Linked DNA regions of Homo sapiens: region 2 is linked to region 1. Evidence: promoter capture Hi-C in human tissues and cell types (Jung and others, 2019). All regions are on one chromosome and are shown on one strand. The core of a region is centred on a gene start or on the middle of the fragment in contact, and the rest is flanking DNA. Distances in the headings are between cores, read along the strand shown.

Region 1 (3,122 bases), core at 291-2,790:
CTATACTCAACTCTTTTCCTTGATTAATCCCTCCTATTGCTACTACACTGATTTTTATACTAGAGCAAGATACAAAACAAATAGATGGGATCTTGCTTTCTGTATAAGCCTTTAGTGCTCTGGGCATAGTAGAAGTTAATAAATATGTGCTATTTATAATAAGAATGATGTCAGTTTCTACACCTATAAAATTAAGTGGTGGAACAAGATAATTTACTACATTTTTGATCTCCAACATTCATTGATTACATATAACCATTTTCAACTTCATACCTACAGTCATGGTTACCATATGACGTGAACATCTTTACTGAAGCTGGCATGAATCACATTGTGATATAACCCCATTCCTGTACAAACAAATGCCACCACCTCATAAAAAGCTAACTATGTGTTTCTATTCATGATTGGAAGGGAGAAATAAACCTACCCCAAGTAGAAATAATATGTTTTTGACCAGCCTTTTTTCATTTATCTCACGTAACCCTAAACTCCCAGTGAAAATTACATTCTTTCTTCTGGCAATGACCAGGAATTGTTTTAACTTTTATTTTGCTGAAATTTTTCTTAATCTCTTTGCATTTATTATACTACACCTCTTGAACTATATTTGGTCACCCATTTTCTAACCTGCCTTATAAAGCAGATAAAAGTATTTTCTAACTCTTGCTTTTTCTTTGATTTATTCCCTTTCCTAAATTCAGTTGTCATGCTCTTTGGTCTAATATCTTTTCACAGGACACATGGTTTAGTAACTTGAAATGACATAAATTAAAATTAAATTCTGCCTTTGAAAAATTATATGCCAGATAATCCATATACAAGTGATTTTTGTCTTTCATAGAGAAGTGTAAATTTTGTTAAAATATTTTGCAATTTTTTCCAATTACTGAATATGAATTTTAGCCTCTTTTTTAAGAGACATTGAAATTGAACAGGTTTTGTTTTATATATCCTCCTGAGTGATCAATGTTTCCTAAAATATGAATGTGAAGTTCAGGAGATATCACAGAAATTGGAAAGATTCCATTTCAGGGAAAAATCTATGAATTTCTATGAATATAGAGTTTATCAGAGTTTCTATCTGGCTAATAAGATTATATCGAGAGAGGATAATCTTATTAGTCTAAAAAATACAAAGCAGTCTTACATAAGGGCAATCATGATTAATAATTCTTTTCTGGAGACCTGAGGTTTGGTGAATATGATCTCCAAAATCACATCACCTTATGGGTGAGAGTCACTTTGTCAGGTGATATACCCACAAGTGCAAACCTGAAGCTGAAGCTCAAGTGGAAATTATACCATTGTTTGTAAACAAAATGTTAACATTTTTACCAAGGACAAACACATTTGGTGAGTATTAGCTGAGCAATAAGGAAAAATCAATTTTGAGATATATTTAAAACAATTCAGCATTTGAACCATCAGAGGGCCCTAGAAAGGCTGGTTTAAAGAGTAACAAGATAAAAATGTTGCTCGCCACAAATAGAGGAATTGGCCCAGACTTATAAAAAGCCGGCAGTGGAATAGGCAGCCATAATTCAGAAACTCCTCCAAGCAACCCAACCTTCAGATCAACTCCTGACACCATGGCCTGCTGTCAGACCAGCTTCTGTGGATTTCCCAGCTGCTCCACCAGTGGGACCTGCGGCTCCAGCTGCTGCCAGCCAAGCTGCTGTGAGACCAGCTCCTGCCAGCCACGCTGCTGTGAGACCAGCTGCTGCCAGCCAAGCTGCTGCCAGACCAGCTTCTGTGGATTTCCTAGCTTCTCAACCGGTGGGACTTGTGACTCTAGCTGCTGCCAGCCAAGCTGCTGTGAAACTAGCTGCTGCCAGCCAAGCTGCTACCAGACCAGCTCCTGCGGAACTGGCTGTGGCATTGGTGGTGGCATTGGCTATGGCCAGGAGGGCAGCAGTGGAGCTGTGAGCACCCGTATCAGGTGGTGCCGCCCAGACTGCCGTGTGGAGGGTACCTGCCTGCCCCCCTGCTGCGTGGTGAGCTGCACACCCCCATCCTGCTGCCAGCTGCACCACGCCGAGGCCTCCTGCTGCCGCCCATCCTACTGTGGACAGTCCTGTTGCCGCCCAGTCTGCTGCTGCTACTGCTCTGAGCCCACTTGTTGAAAACCTCCTTCTGCTGGGGATCCTGATAAGATGGCACCTTAAAACTAGCCAAATTAGAATCCTAACAATCTTCTGAACTCCAGTACCTATAACTGGGCTTGCAACCTCTCATCACACAGCCACATAAATTCCCTAGGAAGTAAATTCATTTACAATGGAAGACCAAAAATTTTTCCTAGACCTGGTTGTCAGCCAAAGTCCTACAATGTGAAAAGAGTTAGATACTATTTTACTATAAATATCACCTGAAATATTTCAACAGTTATTGGGACTTAAATTTAATAAAAGTTTTCATCTCTTCAATGATGAAGTTGTTGTTTGAACTTTCTTTGCTTTGGAATTTATTAACAATATTGGGGTACTGGGATTTTTCAAAATATCAACATGACATGACACTATGGTTTTTCTGTACTTTTGCTCTTTTAATGATGATATTTAACAGCAATTTTCCTTTGTTTTACCATTAAATGGTCCAATATTTTGCAGCCAAGACATATGATTAAAGGAACTTGACAACATTTAGGAACTGTTTCCTAAGGTCCTCTCATGTGCAAAGTGGTGGGCTAGGTATTCCAACAGATTGATTCAGCTTCTTGAGGTTTTGCCAAATCTATTCATTCATCCATTCATATATGAGGTTGTATACAATTATTTCTGTCCTCCAAGATATACAAAAGCATAATAAAAATTGTGAAAGAATACAAACACAAGATTACAGAGTAATAGCATGTAACGAATATACACATTTCATTCAAGGTCTAGGCTCATAACTCCCATAGCCCTTTTATTGATGTTAGGGCACTTTACACTTCAGAAGCAGGCCTCAGAAAACAGAATCTCTCTCTCTCTCGCTCTCGCTCACTCACTTGCTCTTGCTCTCTCTCTCTCTCTGGCCTTCTCCCCACCTCTTTTCACCTGCTCCTTTTACTCCTCAAGGCAAGAATCTTCCCCCACTGTTCTTGGCACTGGCCATCAAGATATTCTCCTACCTACCTT
Region 2 (2,819 bases), core at 303-2,802, 180 kb after region 1:
CCTTTTCTGATACTATCTTGGCCAAAATATCCTATAAGTCTTCACTTGGCAAAGGAAGCATTACATTTCTTATTATGTAACTTCACTTTGCCCTGTTCTCACTGACAAGAAATGCAACTAGCACAGCATCTATCAGTCCCTTCGGGCGGCTAGAACAAAATACCTCGGACCGCGTGGCTTAAAAATGAGAGAAACTTATTTCTCACAGTTCTGGAGGCAGCTTCACTGTCTGATAAGGACCCGCTTTCTGGATCATACACAGCTTCTCGATATATCCTCACATGGCAGAAGGGACAAAGCAATGCCCCAGGGCCTCATTTATAAGGACAATAATCCCCTTCGCCAGGGCTCCACCCTCATGACCTAATCCACTCTCGAAAACCCCACCTCCTAATACTGGGTCATTGGTGATTAGGTCTCAACATACAAATATGGGGGGACAAAAACTTTCAGACCATAGCAGCATCCTTATCATGAGAGTCTATCCCTCATTCACTAGGCCACAAGCCCTAATTCAACACAGATGTGAGAGGTCCCTTTGGACTCGGCAAGTAATGAATTGCAGAAGTGGAAGGTCTGTCTTTAAAGAAAAGAACTCCTAAGAAAAAAAAACTGAATAAAGAATCCTATAGCAAAAGACAAGTACATTGTTTATGATTATCCTAAAATCTAAAATTTTACAAATTTAAATTTTTACTTTGATATGCATATGTTGTGTGTAAAAGCTAGTGGAAGGTCTGGAAAATACTGTATATATACTGAACTGTTATAGTAGTTATCTCTTGGGGATTAGCAAGGGGTTTGAAGAATACCTTTATTAAAATGTTTAACAAACAGCATATATGACTCTGATAATCAGAAAAAAAAATAAATGTTATTCTCCCAAACAAATGGCTTTGCAAATGGGTCACAGCAGGAAGGAACCACCTAGAAAAACAACCACGTAGAAAAACAAAGCCAAAGCTTTATTTCTTTAGGCTTTGTAAGAGTGCCATCTTCTGGAGTCTCAAGAAATGAACTTTAAAATAAACTAACCTGGCTGGGCGCGGTGGCTCATGCCTGTAATCCCAGCACTTTGGGAGGCCAAGGCAGGTGGGTCACTTGAGGTCAGGAGTTCGAGACCAGCCTGGCTAACATGGCGAAACCCTATCTCTACTAAAAATACAAAAATTAGCCAGGAGTGGTGGCGTGCGCCTGTAGTCCCAGCTACTAGGGAGGCTGAGGCAGGAGAATAGCTTGAACCCAGGAGGCGGAGGTTGCAGTGAGCCAAGATCACACCACTGCACTCCAGCCTGGGCAACAGAGCAAGATTCCGTCTCAAAAAATAAAATAAAATAAAATAAAAATAAGCTAAGCCTGTGTGTTCAAGCCACTTGAGATGTATTGATACTAGAAGGTTTATCTTTTAAAACAAGAAAGAAGAAAAAAAGCAAACCTTTTACAACGATCAACTTAGCAAATTAAAATTGTCTTATTTAACTAATAATTAGTTTCCAAAAAGTTCACCAGTAAGGAGGCAGTTCTACAAGGCATAAAGTGAAAAAGAAAGTTAGCAATTATTTAGAGTTAAGAAAACCAGCCAATCAATAACTACTCAGGCTTTAAAAACATACTCAAATATCAAATGAAAATGAAATTCTTAATCATATAGCTGAGTAAATGATTTTTTTATGGGGTAGTAAATGTTTCTTAAATCTTGGAACTGAATCCAAGATTGTGCTGAGCTAAAGAAACCAGACACAAAAGAATACATACTGTATGATTCCATTTATATGAAACTTTCAGAAAGATAAAATCTCATCTATAGTGACAGAAATAAGCTCAGTGGTCACCTGAGCTGAAAGGTGTGGGAGGAGTGAGAATTAACTGGTTAACCTGGAAGGGGCACCTGAGAACCTTTGGGACCGATGGAAGTGTTCCGTATCTTGACTGTGGTGATGGGTCCATTTAGCAAGGCTCTTCAAACTGCACATTTAAAACGAATATATTTCATTGTAAGTAAATATTAACTCAATAGTCAATTTTAAAATAATAATTGAATATTCTTTCTTCAGATGATACTGTCCACAGGCGCAGAGAGGCCATGTAGGATCGTCAAAGGTGTCCTAGGGCAAGCTGGCTCTTAATCACTGATCAGTAAATATTCAGGAATTTTCCAAGCTGGCTATTAAACCATGGGCAGCTTGAAATTGGCCATGATGGGAGTATTTACACAAATGGAACTTGGGCTTTTAAAATGTATTTCCCAGAAAACTGTTTTACACCAGTACACCACTGAGCATAGAGGTTAAAAGCACAGTTCAAAGGCCTGAGTTTGGGTCCCAGCTCTGGCACTTTCTAATGGTTTTACTTACCTCTCTGTTCCATAGTTCTCTGTTCCCTAAAATCAAGGCAAAAAAGGATACCTGCTTCACGCCCTATTATGAGAATTCTATGGGTCAATTCACACTTGGCATATAGTAAGCACTAAATATTACCTGCTATTATTATGCAAAGAAAAAAAGTCTCTCTACAACTAAAGAAATGAACTGGTTTACATATTTCCCCCAGACATATTTATTCTTTTTCTTCCCTTCATGCACAATCCTAAATTATTCCACTTTTGTAAAAAAAAAAAGTGCACTTTTCTCACCCAACATATGGGGAGGGGGGAATAATATTTATCTTCCCTCTATCACAAGTTGTGAGCATCAAATAAGCCAACTTCTGTGAAGGAGCTTAACAAGCCATAAAGCACTTTGAAACTATAAGATGTGCTTTCTTCAGAGATGGGGTCGCTCTCTGTCACCCAGGCTGTAGTGCAATGGTGTGCTCATAGC

What was found. Contacts are between HindIII fragments. The study calls those that stand out against the background at their distance.
Region 2: a contact is called between a fragment that was not itself captured here and the fragment with the promoter of KRTAP1-1 in region 1, in 2 of the 25 tissues and cell types used here (bladder and spleen).

The regions. Positions count from the first base shown.
Region 1 is chr17:41,039,868-41,042,989 of GRCh38, reverse strand. It overlaps KRTAP1-1 (keratin associated protein 1-1), which reads left to right and starts at 1,540. Exons shown (of 1, transcript NM_030967.3): 1 at 1,540-2,449. The coding sequence starts at 1,593. The coding sequence ends at 2,126. The HindIII fragment of the contact is 12,161 bases long and covers 1-3,122 here.
Region 2 is chr17:40,855,343-40,858,161 of GRCh38, reverse strand. The region is part of intron 1 of LOC105371777 (a long non-coding RNA gene); the gene reads right to left. Among named protein-coding and RNA genes, the nearest start is that of KRT12, 10 kb to the left of the region's middle. RefSeq lists an enhancer at 871-1,165. The HindIII fragment of the contact is 6,754 bases long and covers 1-2,819 here.